Linked DNA regions of Homo sapiens: regions 1, 2, 4, 5, 6 and 7 are each linked to region 3. Evidence: promoter capture Hi-C in 16 types of primary human blood cells and fetal thymus (Javierre and others, 2016). All regions are on one chromosome and are shown on one strand. Each heading gives the region's core, a stretch centred on a gene start or on the middle of the fragment in contact. The rest is flanking DNA. Distances are from core to core; before and after follow the strand shown. Region 1 has its middle 5.3 kb from the start of CD82. Region 2 has its middle 77 kb from the start of CD82. Region 3 holds the start of ALX4 (ALX homeobox 4). Region 4 overlaps EXT2 (exostosin glycosyltransferase 2). Region 5 overlaps LOC105376646 (a long non-coding RNA gene). Region 6 has its middle 60 kb from the start of CD82. Region 7 has its middle 25 kb from the start of CD82.

The links. The method cuts DNA at HindIII sites, captures the fragments that hold promoters and counts their contacts. A CHiCAGO score of 5 or more calls a contact.
Region 1: a fragment that was not itself captured here is called in contact with the fragment with the promoter of ALX4 in region 3 in 1 of 17 cell types (total B cells); the score reaches 6.3 in total B cells.
Region 2: a contact is called between a fragment that was not itself captured here and the fragment with the promoter of ALX4 in region 3, in 1 of 17 cell types (M2 macrophages). The highest score is 5.0, in M2 macrophages.
Region 4: a contact is called between a fragment that was not itself captured here and the fragment with the promoter of ALX4 in region 3, in 1 of 17 cell types (endothelial precursors). The highest score is 6.0, in endothelial precursors.
Region 5: a contact is called between a fragment that was not itself captured here and the fragment with the promoter of ALX4 in region 3, in 8 of 17 cell types (megakaryocytes, naive B cells, M1 macrophages and 5 more). The highest score is 8.5, in megakaryocytes.
Region 6: a contact is called between a fragment that was not itself captured here and the fragment with the promoter of ALX4 in region 3, in 1 of 17 cell types (neutrophils). The highest score is 5.3, in neutrophils.
Region 7: a contact is called between a fragment that was not itself captured here and the fragment with the promoter of ALX4 in region 3, in 8 of 17 cell types (total B cells, naive B cells, M2 macrophages and 5 more). The highest score is 12.4, in total B cells.

The regions. Positions count from the first base shown.
Region 1 is chr11:44,558,725-44,562,088 of GRCh38, forward strand. No RefSeq gene overlaps it. Among named protein-coding and RNA genes, the nearest start is that of CD82, 5.3 kb to the right of the region's middle. RefSeq lists enhancers at 439-1,075, 3,111-3,364. The HindIII fragment of the contact is 2,347 bases long and covers 399-2,745 here.
Region 2 is chr11:44,487,537-44,490,646 of GRCh38, forward strand. No RefSeq gene overlaps it. Among named protein-coding and RNA genes, the nearest start is that of CD82, 77 kb to the right of the region's middle. The HindIII fragment of the contact is 5,220 bases long and covers 1-3,110 here.
Region 3 is chr11:44,308,432-44,311,525 of GRCh38, forward strand. ALX4 (ALX homeobox 4) reads right to left here and starts at 1,708. Exons shown (of 4, transcript NM_021926.4): 1 at 1,166-1,708. The coding sequence starts at 1,631. RefSeq lists an enhancer at 1,686-2,614. The HindIII fragment of the contact is 7,283 bases long and covers 1-2,632 here.
Region 4 is chr11:44,102,838-44,105,959 of GRCh38, forward strand. The region is part of intron 1 of EXT2 (exostosin glycosyltransferase 2); the gene reads left to right. Among named protein-coding and RNA genes, the nearest start is that of EXT2, 8.7 kb to the left of the region's middle. The HindIII fragment of the contact is 774 bases long and covers 1,486-2,259 here.
Region 5 is chr11:44,522,189-44,525,550 of GRCh38, forward strand. LOC105376646 (a long non-coding RNA gene) reads right to left here. Exons shown (of 5, transcript XR_931232.1): 1 at 3,291-3,362; 2 at 1,651-1,850; 3 at 315-420. Among named protein-coding and RNA genes, the nearest start is that of CD82, 42 kb to the right of the region's middle. The HindIII fragment of the contact is 846 bases long and covers 1,453-2,298 here.
Region 6 is chr11:44,503,693-44,507,147 of GRCh38, forward strand. No RefSeq gene overlaps it. Among named protein-coding and RNA genes, the nearest start is that of CD82, 60 kb to the right of the region's middle. The HindIII fragment of the contact is 8,151 bases long and covers 1-3,455 here.
Region 7 is chr11:44,539,187-44,542,422 of GRCh38, forward strand. It overlaps the pseudogene RPL7AP79. Among named protein-coding and RNA genes, the nearest start is that of CD82, 25 kb to the right of the region's middle. RefSeq lists an enhancer at 609-1,215. The HindIII fragment of the contact is 480 bases long and covers 1,694-2,173 here.

The DNA of each region.
Region 1 (3,364 bases), core at 322-2,821, 250 kb after region 3:
CTGTAATCCCAGTTACTTGGGAGGCTGAGGCAGGAGAATTGCTCCAACCCAGGAGGCAGAGGTTGCAATGAGCCAAGATTGTACCACTGCACTCCAGCCTGGGCGACAGAGTGAGAATCTGTCTCAAAAATAATAATAATAATAATAATAATAAATAAAATAAAATATTTGTCTTTGTGCATAGTTCATATTATGCAAAATGGCTAATAAAATAGTACATACATATCTATTATAAACAAATGACATATATTGGGATGTATATAACCCTACCATGGGTTTAAGCTGATGCCTAAAAAGAAAAATAAACGGGTAGAACAGGGAATTTGGGGAGGGGGGGACATGATTTAATAGTTTCAAAGACTTACCCAAGTGCCACAGTTGTAAGATAAATATAAATAAGCTTTAGAATATGTAAAGTGCTACGCAAATGCTAGTTATCAAATTAGTTAAATATATTTAAATTAGTTATTTTACAGCTTACTTTTAAAACGGTGGCTGCCATTATTAGTGTCGTAGTTGCTATGGCAACATGGCAATGTACAGGGGCTAAAAGCCCCCTGAAGAGTAACCCCTGGACCTTCAGATGTAGTAGGCGGCAGGGCAGGATTTGAGCAGGGGCCTCACTGATCTTTCTGAAATGACTGAGACAGGAACAAATCAATGGCTCAGTGTCTTCTGTGGGAACTCAGCCCCTGTCCTCAGCTACAACCCAGCTATAATGGGCTTAGAGTTCCAATCCCCTTTAAGTGCTTTGGAGAAAAAAATAAAGGTCGGTGGTCCTGCTGAGCCCATTCAAATGCAGGAATGACTGTGTTCAGGAATAGAGAAATGGAAACAGAAAGTGTGGGAAAGTGCTATTAACCACTTCCTGGCCTGAGACTCGGCAAGAGGACAGAGGATAGGGCGGGGTTATGCCAAGCAAGTGCTGGAGCCCAGCTTTCTGGGGCCAGCCTTCTTTCTGTAAGCAGGAAGCAGGGTCCCTTCAAGGCCCTGGGGAACCTCCTTGATCCAGTGCGAGCTTTTGCGATTCAGTGTTGGGCGCTCACTGGGTCCCAACTTGGGCCTTTCCCCTAGGGCTCAATTTCAGGAACTGAAAATTGGGTTAGCTATATATAAGCTGCAACTTCACTTTCCTCCATCACTTGTTAGTTGTATGACTTTAGCATCTGAGTGCTCCATTTCCACATCTTGGGAATGGGCCTCATAATAGTATGTGCCTCACTGGGTTGTTGCTATCAGGATTAAATGAGTGCAATTTTTAAGTTTGTAACTTTAAGGAAACAGTGCAGGTTTAGGGAGGGAAGTGCTAACTCTATTCTGAGGACTCTTGAAGAAAGATCTTAAGACATCCACTTACTAGGCCAGGCGCGGTGGCTCACGCCTGTAATCCCAGGATTATGGGAGGCCGAGGTGGGTGGATCACGAGGTCAGGAGATCGAGGTCATCCTGGCTAACATGGTGAAACCCAGTCTTTACTAAAAACACAAAAAAATTAGCTGGGCGTGGTGGCACACACCTGTAGTTCCAGCTACTCACAAGGCTGAGGCAGGAGAATCACTTGAACCTGGGAGGCAGAGGTTGCAGTGAGCCGAGGTCGCACGACCACACTCCAGCCTGAGCAACAGAGTGAGACTCCATCTAAAAAAAAAACAAAAAAAAGACATCCAGCTACTCAAGACCAGTTGTCCACTGCTGAACTTCTTATTCATTTGTGCACAAATGCTTGTGTGATACATACTGTATACCATTTTTTAAAACAATCAATTGAGTTTGAACTCTCAGCTCCCATCAGAGAAACCCTCCTCCAGTCATTCTGAGGACTCGCTTGGGGCAGATTGTATTTTTCACAGATGGCTGCAACAATATCTCCTTTCTTGAAAACTCTTCTAGAATTTTGTTACCCCCTGGTTAAGAAAGAGACTATGTACCCTGCTCTTGAACCAGGGCCTTGGTGACTGCTTCTACTAATAGGATGCAAAGGAAGTGATCCTATATGACTTCTAAGGCTAGGTCACAAAATGCCATGCACTTCTAAGTGAGTCTTTGTTCTTCAAAACCGGCAGCCAAATTATGAAGAAGCTCAAGCAACCTGTGGAGCAGCCTCATGGAGAGGACCAAAGGCCTCCACAGCTCTGGCTGACCTCCCAGCTGGCAGCAAGTGCCAACTTGCTAGGTGTGTGAGTACACCATCTTGAAAATGGATCCCCAACCTCCAATTGAACCACCTGACATTGCGTAGAGCAGAGATAAGCCGTTGCTGCTGAGCCCACCCCAAACTGCAGATTTATGGGCAAAATAAATGAGTGGGATGGTTTGTTACATAACAGTAGGAAACAGATACCCGCACTCATTCTCTTTACCTTCCTCCACCAGAGATGTGCAAAAGTCTTGGGGCCTTAACCTAGGCCCAGACACTAACAGGGAACTGGCCCCCATGTTCTTGCCTACAAGTTCTTTGAAGTCTCCTGCTCAGCTGTTCATCTTCCACCTTTGGGGTGGGGGAATCTTCTGAGAGCCTGGCAATCCTATAGCCATACCTCTCTGAGGTCTTGCCACACCACCGTCTTCCCCATCTCCAAGTTGGCCATGGATATCTTCTCTCAAGGCTTTCTAGGGTGGTTCTTCTCACCCCTTTTCCCACCTCCAGAACTCCTGGCTCCACCTCTAGAATGGACTAGAGGTAGAGTCTCACTAGAAGTGTCTGCGCTTTCTGCCTGGCAAAATGCCCAAGGTGAGTCATGACAAAGCTTGCCTTCTGCTGGAAGAGAGGGGATAGGGACAATGCTGAGGGAGCCAACCCAATGTGATATTTCAGTGAATGACTCTGCTATGGTTTGAATGTATTGGAAACTGAATCCCCAAATTCATATGTTGATGGTATTTGGGGGTAGGGCCTTTGGGAGGATTAGATAAGGTCATCAGGATGGGGCCCTCATGATGAGGACTGGTAGCTTTATAATAGGATGAAGAGAGACCTGCGGTGGCATGCCCTTGCCCTCTCACCATGTGATGAGTCAGTAAGAAGGCTTTCACCAGATGTAGCCTCTCAACCTTGGAATTCCCAGGCTGCAGAACTATACAAAATAAAATTCTTTTATCGATTACCCAGCCTATGGTATTGTGTTATAGCAACAGAAAATGGACTAAGTTAGACTCAGATGCACATCTACTCAACAACTGTCCCTTAAGCTTCCAGGCATGTGCTAGAAGCTGGGGAGACAAGGCCAAATGGCAATGTCACCATAGACCTGGACAAGAGGGCACCTGTGGCCACCCAGAGCCCACACCTGACCTTGATCATGCTTTGGGTGTTTAAAAACCTAGACTGCCTATCCAGCCCAAGCCAGTTTTTTTGTTTTGTTTT
Region 2 (3,110 bases), core at 533-3,032, 180 kb after region 3:
GAGACCCCTATCTCTACAAGAAAAAAATTTTTTAAGTTAGCCAGGTGTGGTGGCTCATGCCTGTAGCCCCAGCTGCTCAGGAGGCTGAGGTGGGAGGATCGTTTGAACCCAGGAGATTGAGGCTGCAGTGAACTGTGATTGTACCACTGGGTGACAAAGCAAGATGCTGTCTCATAAATAAATAAATAAAGGAATCTTCCTGCCTTCTGCTGGATCTACTGTGGTTTCACAGAGTAAGCAGATTCGGATCTGAGGCCAGTCCCCATCTCCATCCACACTCGGGGCTTCCCCAGGGTCTAAGACCCTAAAGATCTGCTTCCTGAGGATAGACTTCTAGTTCAAGCTCAAAAAAATACCCTCCTGAGGACTCCTGTTTTTCCATTTTTCATCCTTGATGAAGTGGTTGGTGCTGGGCACACTTTCTATTATCAATAAATATAGAATCCTTTGAGACCTAGGCCTTAGGTCAGTTTTTCCTACCAGGTAAAACCTTGAGCCTCAGGGTTTTGGCAGGTGATAACTGCCTGGAAAAGCGGCCCACTGGATGCTGTGACATTCTGATCACCACTGCGTAAGAACATCTTAAGAAGCAGCTGGCTCTGCGGGACCCCACATGGCAATCCTTGGCCAGCCTCCCCCTGACCACCCCCCAGACTGGCCTCCCAGTGCCAGGGCCCGGCCTCCACTGGAGGGCAGTGGCATCTGGTTCTGCTTTGCTTGGGAAAACAGCTCTGCTTACAAATATTTGGCCTGTGGAGCTTCTTTCCCCACTCGGCCTCAGCTTGTGCCTGAAAATGAAGTGTTTCTGTAAGGGACCCAGAGACAAGGCTGGAGGCCGGGCAAAGGGGAAGCCTCTGTCTAACTCAGCATTTTCCCTAATGGAGACTGCATCCCCAGCCCAGCGGGGTGGAGAGGGGTCTGGAGCCTGGAGGTGGGTGGTGTTTCTGGATAGGAGGGCTGAGCTGGCTGCGGCCCACTGACTGCCAGCCACACTGAGACCCAGCACCAGCCCCAGTGGCACCACACAAGAGGGCCTCCAACTCTCTTCTGCCAACACAGGTCCTCCCCGCTCCCTCCCTCCCTCCCTCCTGGCTCTGGCAGCCATCTTGGCCCTCGATGCAGCCTTTGGGCCTGGAAAGCAGACGACCTGGGAGGAAGGATCTGGCAGGATGAGGCCAGCAGAGCTCTCCCAGAGAGGAGAGCCAGGTGGAACTAGGCAGAGGGGCTCTAAGCCAGGCATCTCCCCCTGAGAGCTCACAGACAAGAGGCAAAGCCACTCAAAGTTGCCAAGAGCCATGATTCATTCACTTGTCAATTACTAAGTTCCTACTCAGTGCCAGCTCTGAGCTAAAACCTGGGATACCATGGTGAGCAAAAGGGAACACCCTTTGTCCAGAACACCCAGCCCTCAGCTCTTCCCAGCATGACTCCTTCCTAACATCTAGGTATAACTCTAATTTCCGCTCATTAGGGAGGATTCCCCTGACCACTTGTCTTAAGTCACACCTCCTTATCCCCCACTTTCTATCCGTTTATTTTATCTTTATTGATAGCATTTCTAACAACTTGAAATTCTTATCTATTTGTCTGTTTGTTTGTTTGTTAGTTCCCTAGCATGTAAATTCCAGGAAGGCAAGAACCTGTCTTATTTATCATTGTATTTCCAGCATATAATAAGGATCAGATAAAGTTTTGTTAAATGAATGAATGAATATTATTACTGTTAATACAAAATGTATTTAGAAATGCCCCAAATGTCACCTGTGCAGCCATGTTTGATTTCCCAGAGCATGAGGTCTACTGGCCAGTTAAACTGATTTCCAGCCAGTGTGTCCAGGGCCTCTGAGGGGAGCTATAGGGTTTTTCTGAGAGAATGGTTGGGCCCTGTTGCCTTAGTGGCCTGGAAACCCTGCTCAGGAACAGTCTGGCACAGGAGAGGAGCCTCCACCCCCTATCATGTGGCTGACAGGCCAGAGAGCAAGAGGTCAGGGCCAAAAACTAAAAACCATTTTCAAAAGAGGGAGAAAATTCAACCATTGACTGCAATGTAATGAAATGAGAGATCCACCTAGCAAAAAGTTGCATTTTAAAACCAGAGGTCCTCCAAGGCCTTGGCATACCAATCCAGCATGTGCTCGCTGCCCTGTAACTCATCTCCTCACTCTGTACTTGGAGCTCTGACCTGGGGGTTCAATATTCTTCGGCTGCGTGGAAAGCTGGGAGTCCCTGGCCTCCAGGGGTGGCCGAATCAAAGGAGATGAAGAAAGAGGAGAGAAATCCTGCATTTAATCTGGGCTTGGGATTCGGAAGCTATTCTGGAGCTTTGAATAAAGAGCAGGTTTCTACAGAGCTAACCCATTTTATTATAGTGGTTCTGAGCAATGGACTCTGGAGCCATCGGGTTCAAATCTTGTTTCTACCAACTAAAAGCAACGTGACCTTGGGCAAGCCGCTCTACTGTTCTGTGCCTTAGTTTCTTCACCTGTAAAATGGGGATAATAGTGGTACCTACCTTGAAAATTGTCTTGAGTATTGAGCGAGACAGTGTCTGTGAAGTAATCAGGACAGTGCCCAGCACACAGCTAGTGCCGATTCAATGTTTGCCTTTATTACTATCCTTCATCCACACTGATTGATTTCCCGTAATACTGCATCAGAGAGTAAATCATGATAATATTACATCTCAAGGAACTGAAGATTTATTTTACCTCATTGCCAATTGAAAAGGCAATGCTTCTAGATTCTTGTGGATTAAGCTGAAAGTTTTGAGTTCTAACATAGATTACAAGAAAGACAACATATTTGGCAGGAGAGGCCAGCCAGAGCTCAGGCCTCACTCTGGGCCTTCAACCTCTCCCATTCCAGTCTTTCCTGGAGAATAATCTTTCTGAAACATGGATCTTGAAGGCTGGAAAGACTAAGATAATTAAAAACTGTTGTAAACAATAAGACTGTTTGGTATAGTTCTAGTTACAAAATAAATATACAAAAATCAGTAGTATTCTTAAGGTGCAACAAGAAGTACTATGATGAAAATAAAGAGTCTGTTCACAAAGGCAGCAAAAACAACAGCAAAATAAAATATCTTGGAATAAGTTTGATAAGAAATG
Region 3 (3,094 bases), core at 458-2,957:
CCCCAACTCTTCCCACCAGGGCCGGACCTGAAGGCCAAGGCCTCCGGGTATGTGCTCAGGACTCCTGGCCCAGAGAAGGTTTTTCCCTTTCTGCGTCTTTGCTTCCCCTTCCGCTTTGGGGTTCAGGAACCCCGATTCTCTGGAAGAAGAGAAGGCCTAGGCTACTGAGCTGCTCTGGCTAGAGACGTCCTTGAGTGTCTCTCTCTCCCGGGCAATGGTGGCTGTGCTCTGGGGGGCCCAGGCCTGCCTCCTGTGGCTGCGTTCAAGGCAGCTTGGAGGTCATTTAGGCCAGCTCCCCCGGGTTCCCCGTGGGCTCAAATCAGGACCCAGACCCTTCTCTCTTGCCACAGCTCTGGGCCACCTGGGACTCGGGACTTCCTGTCTCCCTTCCTACTCTGTCCTAAACCATTGTTCAGAGGCCTGCCGCCTCCAAGAATCGCCGAGGGAGAAGCTCCAGGGGAACTGGCCTGCCCGCATCCCCACTGCCAGTAGCGCTCAGGGTCCCAGGACTCGGGTCTTGCCAGACCACAGTGTCCCCTGGGACCCTAGGGTCTCTGGCTCCGCACTGTGTTGCGCCAGTGCGCCTGGATTTCCCGTGAGCTTTCGGCCAACCACGCTCCGGGCTTCCCGCCTGGCTCCGCACCTGCGGCGCTCTCACCTGCGGCGGCGCCGCCCGAGGAGCCTCCCAGCCGGCGAGGAGCGAGGCTTCTGCAGTCCTGCTGTCCCGCAGCCCCGCAGCCCCGCAGCCTCGCAGCCCCGCAGCCCCGCAGCCCCGCAGCCCCGCAGCCCCGCAGCCCAGCGCCAGAGCGCTGCGCGGAGACTCCTTGCCGCCGCACGCCCTGGGCCGGTAAGAAGCATCCGCTTCAAATCCCGCCCAGCGGGCAGCGCAAAGCGAGCGGTTTGGGGAAATGCCGAAGGGACCGGGAAAAACAAACTCCAAGTCGAGTTTAACAGCCGAAACGCTCCGTGCCTAGGCCGGCGGACAAGAAGGAGACAGAACAGATCCCTTGGCTCCCTCGCAGCGATCGATCCCGTTTACCGACCAGAGTCACCACCCCGCCCCCAGCCCGCCAACTCATACCTCCCGCAAGCCACCAGTTTCAAGGGATGCGGAAGCCAAGCACCCCGTGGTCCCCAGCACCAGGTGACCCGCACGTGCACTCACCGTAGCAGGGAACCTGCAAGGCCGCGCTGTGGCCGCTGCTGCCTTCCTGGAGTTTGAGGCTGCCGTCCGGGGGCGTCTTGCAGGCGCCTCGCTGCAAGTAAAGATGCGGTTGCGCGGGCGGCTGGGGCTGCGGCTGCTGCTGCTGCGGCTGCGGCTGCGGCGGCGGCTGGGGCTGCGGGGTCGACGGCTGGGGCTGGAACTTGTTAAAGGAGCCCCGCGCCCCAGCTCCACTCTCCAGGGGTGTCGCCAGGTCCTGCTGCCCAGCGCCGTAACGGGCCCGGCTCTTGGCGTCCCCGAATCCCTGTGCTTTGGCGGCGGCCGACAGGAAAGTTGTGCCGAACTTGTCGCCTCCGGGAAATGCCCTAAAAGGCGACGAGCCCTCCCGACTCTGCGACACCGGGCTGTAGTAGGCGTCCATGGCAGCGGCCGGCGACTCGCAGTAAGAGACGCAAGTCTCAGCATTCATGCCTGGCTTGCGCAGGCGGCGGGCGGGGACGCGAGCGAGGGCGCGAGGACGCCACCGCGCGCCTTGGCTGGGAGTTTGGGGAGGCGAGGAGGCTGTGGCTGTGCACTCCTTGCCCGGCCTGCTCGCTCTCCCTCCTCCCCTCCACGCCGGCCTCTCTCTCTCTCCCCCTCTTCTTTCTCTGTCTCTCTCCTCTCTCTCCCTCCTCTCTCTCTCTTCCCCTCCCTCCCCCCCCCTTCCTCTCTCTCTCCCTCTCTCTCTTTCCTCCCTCCCCACAGCTAGCCGAGGGAAAGAACGGAGGGCAGTAAAAAGATTCAGATGTTTCGGAAAGTTGACCAGATCTCCCAAACCCTCTTAAGGTTTTGCAGCGGAAAAAAAAAATAAGTAAATTTTTTTCCCTGCCTTGCTTCTTCCTTTCCCCCTCTCTCGTCCCCTCCTCCTCTCTCCTTCCACTGGCCCCTGCCCCCTCCTCTCCACTCTTAAGGAGATGCTACTAACTCGCTAGCGGGGATTCAACCCGGAGGCGCCCGAGGGCTTTTCCGATTCTAGGCGGGGCTGGGGAGATGCCAGGATCCCCAGGGCTCCCGAGGCTAGGCTGAGAATTGGCGGGGTGTCGGAGCTTTGCCTTAGGGCAAAGGGAAATGCAAATTTTAATGACAGGTTAAAAAAAAGCCCCCCAAAATAAACCTAACAGGTTTTGACATTCGAAGCCAGGGGGACCACGGGCCTGCGGATGCAAGCGAGTCCTACGGACTCCTGCGCGCGAGCTCGCGGGCGCCGCTGCGGGCCTTCCCGCTGGCACCTTTTCCTAGGTTTCCAACCTTCCTCCCCATTCCCGTTCCTACGGGAGATTAACACACACACAAGCCTTCGTCGTCCAGTGCATGGTCACTTGCACGTCTTGTTAACTATTTCCCTCTGCTGTAAGGGCGCTGGGCTGGGATGTAGCGGAATCTGTGCTCCCTCAAGCCCTGGAGAAGCCCTGGGCTGGGCCCGGCTTCAGAAGCTTTAGAGCGCTGCCCTCTGCGCTCCCGTCTAGAGGCCGCACCGTTCACGCCCCACGTCTGCGCCCAGGCGAGGGGATTTCCTGCCAGGCGAAGTACAGAGAGCGGACTCTGGAGACCCCCTGACCTTGCCCGATAGTCGCGCTGTCACCTGTTCACTCCTTGGGGTCAGGGGTCGGGGAGAGGGGTGAGACCGTCTCTTCCCTTTCTGGCCTCACTGCCCCCGACTGTAAAACGAACTGCTTGGTTTTGATAGGTTGTGGTTTCACCACCACTGCGAGCCTCAAGGCCCCTGGCACCGCCACAGCAAGGGAAAAAACTTTGCGCGTGCAGCCCCTCGATTTCGCTTCATGACAACCGTGCTAGAGATTGGCGCCCCCAATTTTCTGATGAGCTAACGGAGGCTCAGAGAGGGGCGGCCACCTGGTCCAGGTCACACAGCTGGGAAATAGCCGTCGCGCC
Region 4 (3,122 bases), core at 623-3,122, 210 kb before region 3:
CTTTTCTGTGAAATTCCTGTTTAAGTGTGTTTTCTGTTTTTTGTTTGTTTTGTTTTCTTTTTGTTTGTTTTTTTCTTATTGCTTCGTACAGTTTATTCTGGTTGCAAGTCCCTGTTGCTTATATGTGCTGGAAATATATTCTTCAGGCTTGCAGCTTGTCTTTTTACTTCCTTATTGTGTTTTTGATGGAAAATTCTTAATGGTTTCTGGTTTTTGTGTTTTGGAAATCATTCTCTGCCAGATGTCATTGATATTCTCTATTGTGTTCTAAATATTTTATAGTTTTTCCTTTTACATTTAGTTTTAAGATATACCTTGAATAGATTTTTCTCCCCTTTGGCTGCTTTTAATATTCTTCTTTAACTTTCTTTTTAGCAGTTTGGCTTTGATATATCTAGGTAGCATTTTCTTTATATATATATATGTTCTGTTCTGAGTTGAGCATCTTGAGTCTGTGAATTGATGTATTTTATCATTTTTGGAAAAACTTAAAAAAACACAGTTGGATTATCCCATCGGCTTCTACATTCAGTCTGTTGCAGTGTCATATGTCATGTAGCCTCTGGAAAATGGAAGTGAATAAAGCAAATGTCAGTATTAAACTAGTATAAGCCCTTTGAAAGGGCCTGGGATGCCTGAAGCATACTTCAAGAACCAGTGTTCTAAGATTTTGGTATGAAGCATTTGCTAGCCTCCTAAACTGAGCTTTGAAGTGTTTCCTCTTTTTTTTCTGAACTCTGGAATAATTTGTGGAAAATTGGAATTATTATTTCTTGAATATTTGGTAGAACTTGGAAAATTTTCTGGGCCTGGAATTTTCTTTATAGGAAGATTTTTAAACTTTTGATTCAGTGTCTTTAATGTTATAGAGCTACTCAGAGTTGCTGTTTCTCCTTGAGATGCTTTTGGTAAGTATATTTTAAAATAATTTTTCCATGTTATCTGAGTTTTCAAATGTACTGGCATAAATTCATTGATACCATCTTATCTTTTAAATATATGCAGCATTTAGAGTTATGTTCCCCTTTTCAGGTATTTATTTGCACCTTTTTCCTTGAATTCTTGATTAATCTTACCAGAATTTTATTAGTCTGTTTTTAAACAAACAACTTTTAGCCTTGTTGACCATTTCTATTTTGTTTTTTAATTAATCTCTGTGCTTTTATTTATTATTTTCTTCTGTTATCTTTGGTTTTACTTTGTTGTGATATGTCTTTTTTATAGTTAATCTGCAACTCATAAAGATTTGTGAAGCTCATGTGTGAATACAGTTTTTGTTCCCTTAACCTCAATTTTGTCATACATAGAAGCTATTTTTCAAGCTATGGAGGACCCATTATTGGGTGGTATAATTGATCTAGTAGGTTATGGCCAGAATTTTTTAAAAAGCAATAGAATAACAGAGTAGAAAAATGGAGGGTTCATTGCGTGTTCTGTGGCTAACACTGTGTACTCACAGTACATAGCTTAAATGTTGTTTTTTGAAGCTTTATTTAAAATATCCATATACACACATATATATATCTGTCTATATTGGGTCACAATATAACATATATTTCTTACTGTCAATTTTAGTTTAAAAAAAGTTTTGAAAAACACTATTAAAGGGTAGTTTGTCTAATATTAATAAAGGTTTAAAACCAGATGGCACAAAATACTTGAGGAGCTTGTTTTTAAATGACATATTCTGTGGCCCTATTTTAAACTTACTGATAACAGCCTCCAGTGGTGGGGCCAAGGAATCTGTTTTAACAAACTCTTGTGCTTCTTACCCTTCAGGTGTTGGGGAACCACTGATTCAAGTATACACATAGACCTTGAGAGCTTCTTGGGAAGTTCTAACATGGGCCAGCGGAGGGCAGCTCCTTGCCTGCATTTGTCCCAAAACTTCCTGTCTTCAAACTCCAGGAGGGATATGCAGAATGGCAAGGAAGCCATACCATAGGGTGGGCCTGCAGCTGGTAGGGGATGGGAGCAGGCAGGAATATTCTGCTTACTGTTAGAATGATAGAAAAAGTGAAATCGCTGTCATGCCACATTTCTGTCATAGAACAATTAGAATATATTGAGTGACTGATGTATATACTCCAAAGATGATAATCTTTTAAGCTCAAAATGTATGAATTTTCATGTATTAGTCAATGATAGGCAAATTCCTTGTTATGTTCCAGTTTCTGGTCTTAGAGAGATATGACTTGAAATGATTCATGACCATTTAGCATATTTTACCCCCAAAACTGAAAGTGATTGCAACATTCAAGCTTGGCAATACTCAGCTCGCTAGGCAGGAAGCAGTTTACCATGTGGGCACTGATGGGGAGAGCTCCATTTATCCGAAGCAAAAATGGTTGATAACTCTAAGATGGTCTATGAGCTTTTCAGTTACTTCCCATTATATTAATAGCTTTCCTGGAAGATCCGTGAGTAGAATGATACCATTTTGTTTATTTATTTTTATTTTATTTTATTTTTTGAGAAAGAGTCGTGCTCTATTGCCCAGGCTGGAGTGCAGTGGCACAATCTTGGTTCACTGCACCTCCGCCTCCCAGGTTTAAGTGACTGTCTTGCCTCAGCCTCCCAAGTAGCTGGGATTACAGGTGTCTGCCATCATGCCTGGCTAATTTTTGTATTTTTAGTAGAGACAGGGTTTCACCATGTTGGCTAGGCTGGTCTTGAACTCCTGATCTCAGGTGATCTGTCTGCCTTGGCCTCCCAAAGTGCTGGGATTATAGGCATGAGCCACTGTGCCCAGCTGTCTTTTTGTGGATTGGTATTTTGACATGCAGGATGCCAAAATAGCTTGTTGCAGTAACATGGTAAGTATGTGGCAGATGATGCAGCCACACTCAAGGCTCTGCCCTCCCCCGAAACAGTATCCGGGAATCATATAGGAGAGGCTTGTTTGGTAAGGATCTTAAAATGTGGTCTACATGGGAACTCTACATTTTTAGCTGAGGACTACAAATTTTCTTTACATCTCAGTCAATAATGCTTATTGGCTGTTTTATATATCTATAGCTGTATAACAAACCACCCCAAAACTTAGAAGCTTTAAACAACAACAGTCATTTATTTGCTGATGATTGTGGAATCTATGCAGAGCTTGGTGGGGATGGCTCATC
Region 5 (3,362 bases), core at 626-3,125, 210 kb after region 3:
AATTGGAGCAATGCAAACTGGATGCCTTTTTGCCCTCCACGTCCTCACAGCCCCACTGCCTTCTGGGTCTCTTAATCATCTATTTTGGGTCCAGATTTTTTAACCAGTTGAGATTCTTAACACCTGTCCCAAAGGATCGGTCAAGCTCCCCATTAATTCCCTATTTAGGAGGAAAGGGAGGCTTTGAGGAGGAGATTGACATGTCTGCAACTGTTGTGGAGCACAGGACTAGAGTTAGCACTTGAGCCTGCAAAGATTTTTCTGCCTCCATCATTCATTCATTCATTCATTTATTCACTCACTCATTTACTCACCTACTGTGTGCAAGGCCCGTTTGTTGAGCACCTACTATGTGCAAAAGCAATGTTCTAGGCATTGGAATACCTTCATGAACAAGACTGGCAAATATTTTGTCTTCAGCTATAGCCCAGTAGAAAAGACAGGCATGAGACAGAAGTTCAGAGAATAATTAAGGCATGCTATGACAAATCACTTTGCTCACATCTCTGCTCAAATGTCACCTCTTCTGAGTGACCTTTCCGGACCCCCATGTCTAAAATACCACCCCATCAATCTCCATCCCCTTTCCTGATTTTTCAAAAAGTAGGAGTATGAGTATTTGGTACAAGGTTATGCATTTCTTTGTTTTCCTGTCTTCCCCACTAGACAGTGCACACCACGAGGGTGGGAGTTGTGACCCCTTTGTGCTCTGTCTCCAGCACCTGACTTACCATGTGCTCTGAGTAGATACTTACTGAATGAAACATGAATGAATGAATGAATGCTACAAAGAAGATATACAGGTGCTCTGGGAGGAAAAACAGGGAAACCCAGCCTAGCCTGGAGTTCAGGGGGAGGTAACCCCCAAAGCAGGAGCTAACTTCAGACTGAGCTCCAAAGCAGGCCAGGACACTAGAAAAGAGGCAGGAAGTCTGGGCGCGGTGGCTCACGTCAGTAATCCCAGCACTTTGGTAGTCCAAGGTAGGCAGATCACGAGGTCAGGAGTTCAAGACCAGCCTGGCCAATATGGTGAAACCCCGTCTCTACTAAAAATACAAAAAAACTAGCCAGGCATGATGGTGTGCGCCTGTAGTCCTAGCTACTCGGGAGGCTGAGGCAGGAGAATTTCTTGAACCCAGGAGGCGAAGGTTGCAGTGAGCCAAGATTGAGCCACTGCACTCCAGCCTGGGCAATAGAGGAAGACTCCGTATCAAAAAAAAAAAAAAAAAGAAGAAGAAGAAAGAAGAAGAAGAAGAAGAAGAAGAAGAAGGAGAAGGAGAAGGAGAAGGAGAAGGAGAAGGAGAAGGAGAAGGAGAAGGAGAAGGAGAAGGAGAAGAAGAAGAAGAAGAAGAAGAAGAAGAAGAAGAGGCAGGAAGAGCATTTCAGGCAGAGGAACCACAGCATGCGCAGAGCCCAGGATATCGACGATCTACAAAGGTCCCCTATCTGCAAAGCTTCCCCTACAGGACAGTCACAGGCAGCTGCCTTGAGGGCACACCAGGGGGAGCCAGCAAGCCTTTGATGGCACCGCAAAAGAGGCTCCAGATCCTCGGATTAAAATTCTGGCTATGTGATCTTCGGCAAGCTCTTTAACTTCCCTTAGTTAGCCTCTTTTCTCATTTGTAAAATGGAGATGAGAGTGACACCTACCTTGAGGGGTTACTGTAAGGACACAGAATGACAACTTCAAGTTTTTTAGATGAGAGCCTGATCCGTGGTGAGACTTTAACAAATGCTGGTGGCCGGGTGCAGTGGCTCATGCCTGTAATCCCAGCACTTCGGTAGGCCGAGGCAGGAGGATTGCTTGAGGCCAGGAGTCCCAGACAAGCCTAAATAACATGAGATCCTGTCTGTACAAAAAATTGGAAAATTAGCCAGGTGTGGTGGCATATGCCTGTGGTCCCAGCTACTCAGGAGGCTGAAGTAGGAGGTTTGCTTGAAACCAGGAGTTCAAGGCTGCAGCAAGTCATTGATTGTGTCACTGCACTCCAGCCCGGGTGATAGAGTAAGACCCTGTCACTAAAAAAGTTAAAAAAAAAAAAAAAAAAAGCTGGCTATGTTAGCACAGTGCTGCCTCTCCTCACCCACTAGAAAATTTAGGCCAAGGTAATCGGGCTGTCACAGAAGCAATATTCTCAGCTGGCTTTAATCTAGGAACGGTGGGGTGGAAAATAAAAAAGACTCCCAGTCCCTTGAGCAAAGCAGTTGCCTCAGCCTCAGTATCCCCATCTGCTCAAGGAGGCCTCGGCCGGCTTCTCCGTGTGGCCGAGTTTCCCTCTCACGGCCTGTTCCCAGCCAAGCTTCCAGTTCCCTGAGGTTTTCACTTCCTGTCAGAGACCTCAGGGCCTTACACATCCAGGCCTTCACCTCCTGCACGGATATTTTGCACTTTCCACCTTCCCCCAGCCCAGATGTCCTGGAGTCCTGCCTCCCCGGCTCCCTCTGGGCCTGCTCTCTGTCCCTGCCTGGCCACCACCTAGCCAGCAAGCTGTTGGTGTCTCCCCAGGCACGCAGCGCCTGGTGCAGGGGCTACACTGCCCTGAAAACCCCCAGGATACCAAGCACCCCCGAACTCCACCCATCTGTGATGACTTCAGCAGAAAGTCCTGCCCATACTTGTGGAAATTAGTGTGTGTGTGTGTCGGGGGCGGGGGTTGGGGGCTAATCTTAGAGAGGGCCCTATTTGCCCCTCGCTGCACACCACAGGGAAGACATGCTCCAGGTAAGTGCACGTTTTCACACATACTCTCGAGTGCACGTGGGCTCGAAAGGGCTGGAAAAGCTTCCCCCTGGACAGAGCTAGTCTCAGAAACTCAGGACGTGGGAAGGGGGTCACTGAGGGGGAGGCTCTGGCACTGGGCCCAGCACTGTGGTTTCTGATGCTGCCTCAGCCGCCAATTGGAAGGAAGCTTGGGAGGAGGAGGAGGAAGCGCTGAGTGTGCAAATGAGCAGTGACATGGGAAATCTCACAGGGCAGAGGCAGCCTTCAGGATCTACACCAGGACGAGGTGACCTGGTTTCCCCTGGCTTGGTGGCCCTGGAGGAGTCACTGTGCTTCTCTAGGCTGATTCCCTCTTCTGCAAAATGTCAGTCCCAGACAGTAGGCAGCAAAGAGTGGGTAGACCCGAGTCCCAGTCACAGCCAGTCTCCCCGGGATCCTGAGGCTGCAACAGAGGGTGCTCCTCGCTGGGCCTCCATGTCCTCATCTACAAAATGGGGACAGTGACCCTGATCTTGCAGGATTGCCCCAAGGTTGAGAAATGGTGTACACAGAGCATCAGACACACTACCTCTTAGATACATCCCTTCCTCGAGGTGCCTGCCAGGCCCCAAGTGAGATCAAGCCTCCTCTCTAGGGTCTT
Region 6 (3,455 bases), core at 504-3,003, 200 kb after region 3:
AGTCGTGGAGTGTGGGGTCCCCACAGTCTCCCCAGGGTGTGGTGGGAGAACCCCCGGAGCCCAGGGAAACCACACCACCGCTAAGGACAGGAAGGTGGTGGCCCAAAGCAGGACCCGGCCAGGAGGTAAGGAGAATCCCAAGCTGTGAGGAGCCTGGAGGAGGCCTAGCTGCTCCCACGGTCCCAACCTGAGGGTCTGGCGGCTGAGAACAGCCATCACCATCATCACCGTCATTGGAGGATGAAAGGATGGCAGCTGCCCAGACCCGAGGAAGCCCTGCCTCCCACTTGGGCCCAGTAAAATCCTGAGAAACTCATGGCAGTGGGTGTGGCCGCGCAATACAGCATCAGCACAGGGAGGGTCCAGGGAGAAATCAGCTCATCCCGAAAAAAGAAAGAGGTCACATTGACTTACACATCTGAGTTTATCACCTGCAAAGGGTTACCCGCCTTAGGATTCTGCCTCACACTAGTGCTTCCTGCTAGGATGTGCAGTTCTGTGCACCCCTACCTTTCTTCCTACACACACACACCACACACGCACATATACCCTCCATACACTCTCCACCCCCGACACACACACCACCCCACACTCTTCATATGCTCTCCATACACACGCCCTGTCTCCACATACTCACCGCACACCCTCCATACACTACACACACACCACACACACACCAAACCACACTCTCCATACACTCTACACACACACACTACACACTCTCCATACTCTCTCCACACACACACACACTGTCTCCACAAGCACCACACACCCTCCATACACTCTACACACACACACCCTCCATACACTCTTCACACACACACATTCTCCACACACACGCCACACACACTTTCCATGCACACACACATTCTACATACACACACACTCCACACCCTCCACACACACACACCCTCTGTACACACACCCTACACATACACCTCATACACCCTGCATATACTCTTCACACACATTCTACACACACACACACCCTCCATACACACTCCCCTACACACACCATACACTCTACACACACACACCCTCCGTATACTCTTCACACACACATTCTACAGACACACACACACCCTCTGTACACACACCCTTCACATACAGCACACACACCCTCCACATGGAGACTCTGAGGCCCAAGAGGATCTCTCTGTGACCCTGTGTGAAAGGCAGAATAATACCACCTCCATATATCCCCAAGCCCTAGTCCCCAGAATCTGTGATATGCTATGTTCCATGACAAGGGAGAATTAAGGTTTGTCCTGGTCTGCTTCAGCTGCTGTAACAAAATGCCCTAGACTGGGTGGCTTAAACAACAGGCATTTATTTCTCAAGGTTCTGGAGGCTGGGAAGTCCACGGTCAAGGGGCCAGGAGGGTAGAGGTCTGGTTAGGGCTCGATTCCTGGCTTGTTGACAGGCCTCTTCACCAAGTCCTCACATGGCTGAGGCCAGAGAGAGGGCTTACTTAGCCCTTTTCCTCTTATAATGACACTAATCCCATCATGGGGGCCCCACCCTCATGACCTAATCACCTCCCGAAGGCCCCATTTCCTAATACCATTGCATTGGAGCTTCGTGCTCCAACCCATGAATTTGGAGGGACACAAACATTCAATCCATAGCAAGATTATAGAAGGAACTGGGGTTGTTAATCAGCTGACCTTGAGTTGGGGAGATTATCCTGGATTATCTGGGTGGTCCTTACAAGTGAAAGAGGGCAGTGAGAGTCGGTGTCAGAGCTGGAGAGAGATTTGAAGATGCCACGCCACCTTTGGAGATGGAGGAAGGAGCCGGAGCCACAGAACGTGGGTATCTTCCAGAAGATGCAAAAGACAAAGGAGTAGATTCTCCCCTGGAGCCTTCAGGAGGAATGTAGCCCTGCAGACACTTTGATTTTAGCCCAGCCAGACCCATTTTGGACTTCTGCCCTCCAAAACCATAAGATGATACATTGTTATTGTTTTTGGTGACTAAGCGTGTTACAGCAGCAATGAGTCTAGTGCTATCTGTTTCCTCAGCACAGCACTTTCCCTTTGCCTCCTGGCCTCTCTTCTGCTGTCTCCCACCCCACCCATTTTATCACATTGCTGTTGCTCTCCTGGTCCCCTACTACGGTTTGGATCTGTGTCCCCACCCAAATCTCATGTTGAAATGTAATCCCCAATGGTGGAGGTGTGGCGTGGTGGGAGGTGATTGGATCACAAGAGTGGTTTCTCATGGTTTAACACCATCCTTCCTTACTGCTGTCATTGAGATCGTGAGATATGGTTGTTTGAAAGTGTCTAGCACTTCCTTCCACACTTCCTCCTGCTCCGGCCTTGTGAAGTGCTCACTCCCCCTTTGCCTTCAGCCATGATTGTAAGTGTCCTAAGGCCTCCTCAGAAGCTGAGCAGATGCCACCATCATGTTTTCTGTATAGCCTGCTGAACCATGAGCCTCTTTTCTTTATAAATGACCCAGTTTCAGTTTTTTTTTATAGCAGTGTGAGAATTGACTAATATACTCCACAATCACTTTCTCTTCCTTGGACTTCTAACTCCAGCCCAGAGCAGGGGCCACTCTGAATCTTTTTTTTTTTTTTTTTTTTTTACCAGTTTTGGGCCAGGCAGCTCCCAAGTTTCAATTTCCATGGGGCAAAGTGGGAGCAAGCAGCCTGGGACAGGGGCCTGGACCCCCAGGCCTCCTTGGTCTTTTCTGGGGCGGGGGCAGTTGCTTCCACCCACCCCCCAAGCCAAGGGTGGGTGTGGAGGCCCAAGGTGGGCTAGGAGCAGGAAAGCAGGGAAGAGGCAGGGTGGATGGAGTGGGAGAGAGGCCGTCTCGAAGGTACCAGAGTGAGTCACACCTCGTAAAGCAGTGTGAACTGGAGCATGGAGAGTTACTGCCATCGGGACTTTCATGTCCTTTCAATAAAGCCTTATCAGCACCAAGCTGCATTTTTGGCTCTTAATTCCAGATGTGGCCCCAGCCGGTCCCCAGCAGGGCCTCCTTTCTCCCTGCCTTCTTTCTACACGGGCCACTCAAGGCAATGCTGGGCCAGCTGAAGGAGTGAGACATCCAAGTAGCCTAAATCAGCCTTTCAGGGCTGGGTTCTGGGTCACAGGAGCCAGACAAGCCCAGCCAGTTTAGAGGAAGGTCATGGATGCAGATTTCTGCCCCATGAGGCAGAGAGAGAGGAGGACCTGCTGGTGGCTCTGCCAAAGGTCTGGCTGAAAGACAGGGAGGTGGCCACATCCTGGGCTAATGCTGGGACACCTGGATCTTCACCCCAGCACTGTCCTTGACTCAAATGATAATCTTGGACAAGTCAGTTTGTTTTTCTAGCCTCAATAGTCTTGGCAAAACAAGGAACTTGCTCTAGCTTCTTTTGTTAATTAGTCAATAATTATCTAGAAAACCAGTAGTGCATGCTGGTTTCTGTTGTGGTCCTGGGCGATGTAGGGTGAGTGAAG
Region 7 (3,236 bases), core at 684-3,183, 230 kb after region 3:
CAGCCTGGGTGACAGAGTGAGACCCTGTCACCAAGAAAACCAAAAGCAAAATCAAAAAAAGTAATTGACAATAGTAGCCAACACTTAGCGAGCACTTACTGTGTGCTAGGCATGGTCCTGAGCGCCTTATTTGAATGAACTCATTTATTCCTCCCAACAACCCTTAGGAGGCAGGTACAACATTAGCTTCGCTTTACAGATGAGGAGACTAATGATCAAAGAATGCGAGTAACCTGGCCAGGGTCATGAAGCTTGAAAGATGCAGAGTCAGGTTTTGAATGCAGGCCGCCTGGCTTTGAAGCCTTGACCTTCATCTCAAGGTTATGGGACTGCCTCTCTGTACACCTGGTACAAGTAAGGCTTCTCTGGCAGTAGGGGTTGGGGGGATGTGAAGTTAGGAACCACACTTGCTCTGCCCATCCCCCACCTCCTCTGGATTCCTAAGGAACCATCAAAAGCTGCCGACCCCAGTGTGGAAATCAGTGCATGCATGACATCGATAGGTCTTAAGCAGGGAAGAGGGAAAATTCTTTTTGAAGGAGAATTTGTATCATTTTAATGATTTTTATGTACAGAAAATGAAAGTGTACATTTAACCCAGTTAAGTGGCAAGTTCTTTAACCTTTGCCTTTTCCAACTTGGCAATGCAAGCCATAGATTTGGGACCCAGGATATTGCCTCCCCAGTGACGACGGATATCATCATATCTGTCGTTGTAATTAGTCCTGACAGCTTCCACCAGCTTCATCAAAACTCCTTTGTCTTCTGAGTTAACCTGTGTGAAGGCAACAGTGGTGCAGGTCTTCCTGTGGACTGGACGTTCCAGTCTTGCCTTCCCCTTGATAATGCAATCAGAGACCCACATTTTACAATGCAGGGCAGGCAGGAAGACAACAAGCTCGATGGGATCCTCGTCATGTCAAGTGCTACTCAAAATGGTTAGGCCCATTGTCTCCAAGCTACCTGCTGAGAGGTGATCGGCCTAGCATGCACACTCTTCTCTGCGGGAAGCAGCAGGCTGGCAACCAAACGTCTGTTCACATGCAGTCATCACTGGCTGAGCCTTCTTGTTCTCCACCAAGGGGTAACGGTGTTGACTCCTGCTTGAAGGACAGGTAGTCTCTTAGTGAGGATGTCCCCTTTGCTGTCAGCTTTCTTCTCAGCCTGGGCCAACAGCCTCTGCTTCTACTCTTGCTTTGTCTCTGGTCTGTATTTGTGGGTCAGCTTAGGCAGCTGAGTAGCTGGTGGTCCAGGTCCTGGGTGAACTGGTTAATCACAGGGGGCACTTTCAGCCACTTATAGAGGATGGCTCTCTGCCGCTGCAACCTGATATAGCAGGGCCATTTCACAAAGCGGCTGAGGTCACTTTTGGGCTGGATGTCCAGTGCCAAAATTCTTAGGCCTTTTCTTAACAGAGGGGATTCACCACTTTCTTGGTCTCCTGCTTCTCCATGACAGCAGGGGCCGGGGCCACTTTCTTCCCCCTGCGCTTCTTTCCTCTTGGCATCTTGGGAAGGTGGAGGAGCAGAAGAAAATAGATTTATGTGTTGCAATGGTTACTCTAGGGGTGGAGCAAGGAACTCAAACCAGAAGCTGTGATCAGATTTGGGAGGTGAACTGGGGAGGGAGTAGAGGGCACAAGAGCAGAGGAGGAAGGATGATCTGTGTTCACTGAGGAGATCACGTGGTCATAAGCTTGATTTTTAACTTACTTGGAGTGAGGTATGTGTCTAATTTGTCTCTTGAGCCAATCAATTTATTCACAGCCATTTGTAGAACATCTACTATTCACTGTTCTCAATGCTGGGGACACAGTGGGAAACAAGGACATAGGTCCTGCTTTTATGAGGCTTACACTCTTGTTGTGGGAGGGGGTCTAATAATGACCTAATAAGTAAATAAGATGAAGATGGTGATAAATATCATAGGGCAGATAAAGCAAAGCAATGTGCTGAGAGAGGCCAACCCAGCTGGTTTGAATTCTTACGCTGCCACTGGCTGTGCAGATCTAGGAACTGAGTGTTTCTGGCAGAGGGAATGGCAGATGCAAAGGCCCCGAGGTGGGAAGGTGCTTGGGGCATTAGAGAAACAGAAAGTGTGACTGAAGCATGAGAGGAGAGGAGGTCAGACAACTAGGCGGGGGTTAGAGCACATGCCTAGAGAAAAAAAAAAAAGCTTTGATTTTTGTCCAGGGCAATAAAACACTGTAGGAAAGTTTGGGGCAGAAACATGATAAGGTCTGATTTGCATTTGTAAAGTATCACTCTGACTGCTGAGAGGAGAAGGATTGTAGGGTGGCAAGAGTGAAAGCCAGGCTAAGTGTGGTGGCTCACGCCCATAATCCCAGCATTTTGGCAGATCCAGGTGAGAAGATCACTCAAGGCCAGGAGACCATCCTGGGCAACATAGCAAGACCCTGTCTCTAAAAAAAAAAAAAAAAAATTATCTGGGTGTGGTGGCACGTTTGTAGTTCCAGCTACTCAGGAGGCTGAGGTGGGAGGATCACTTGAGCCCAGGAGTTGGAGGCTGGCTGCGGTAAGCCGTGATCACACCACTGTACTCCTGCCCAGACAACAGAGTGAGACCTTATCTCCAAAAATAAAAAATAAAAATAAAAAAGACTGAAACCAGGGAGTTGAGTTGTCCAGTTAGGAGATGATTGCATTAAGCCAGGAGGGCGATGACGGTGACTTGGAACAAAAGGGTGGAAGGAGGCAGATCAAAAGCATTGGAAGGTAGAGGTGGCTGGGCTTACTGAAGGGCTGGAAATCGGGGTGGATGGGGAAGATATGTCAAAGGAAGGAACCAAGGGTATGTCCTAGAATTTGCACCGTGGATGAATGGTGCTGTGACTTACTTAGATGAGGATGACAGGAGGAACAGGTGTGGGGCAGATGCTAAAGGGAAGAAGAGTTCCACATGTGGTTGCATGAGAAGAGATGAGACATAAAAATGCATATATGAGTCCAGGAACTGTTGAACAGATCAGATCTGGAATTATAAATCTAGCTGTCATCTCATGAAGAAAAGGTGATCCATGACCAGGGAGAAGTGATTCACAATTCTATATCCAGCCATAAAAAGAGCTCCCATCGATATCGCTATTAACACCACCAATGTCAATGCCATTCTTGCATTACCATTGTTGTCATCAGGATCACCACCATCATCAGCAACACAATCATCACTATCACCACCACCACCATCATTATCATCACCATAATGACCTCTCATTA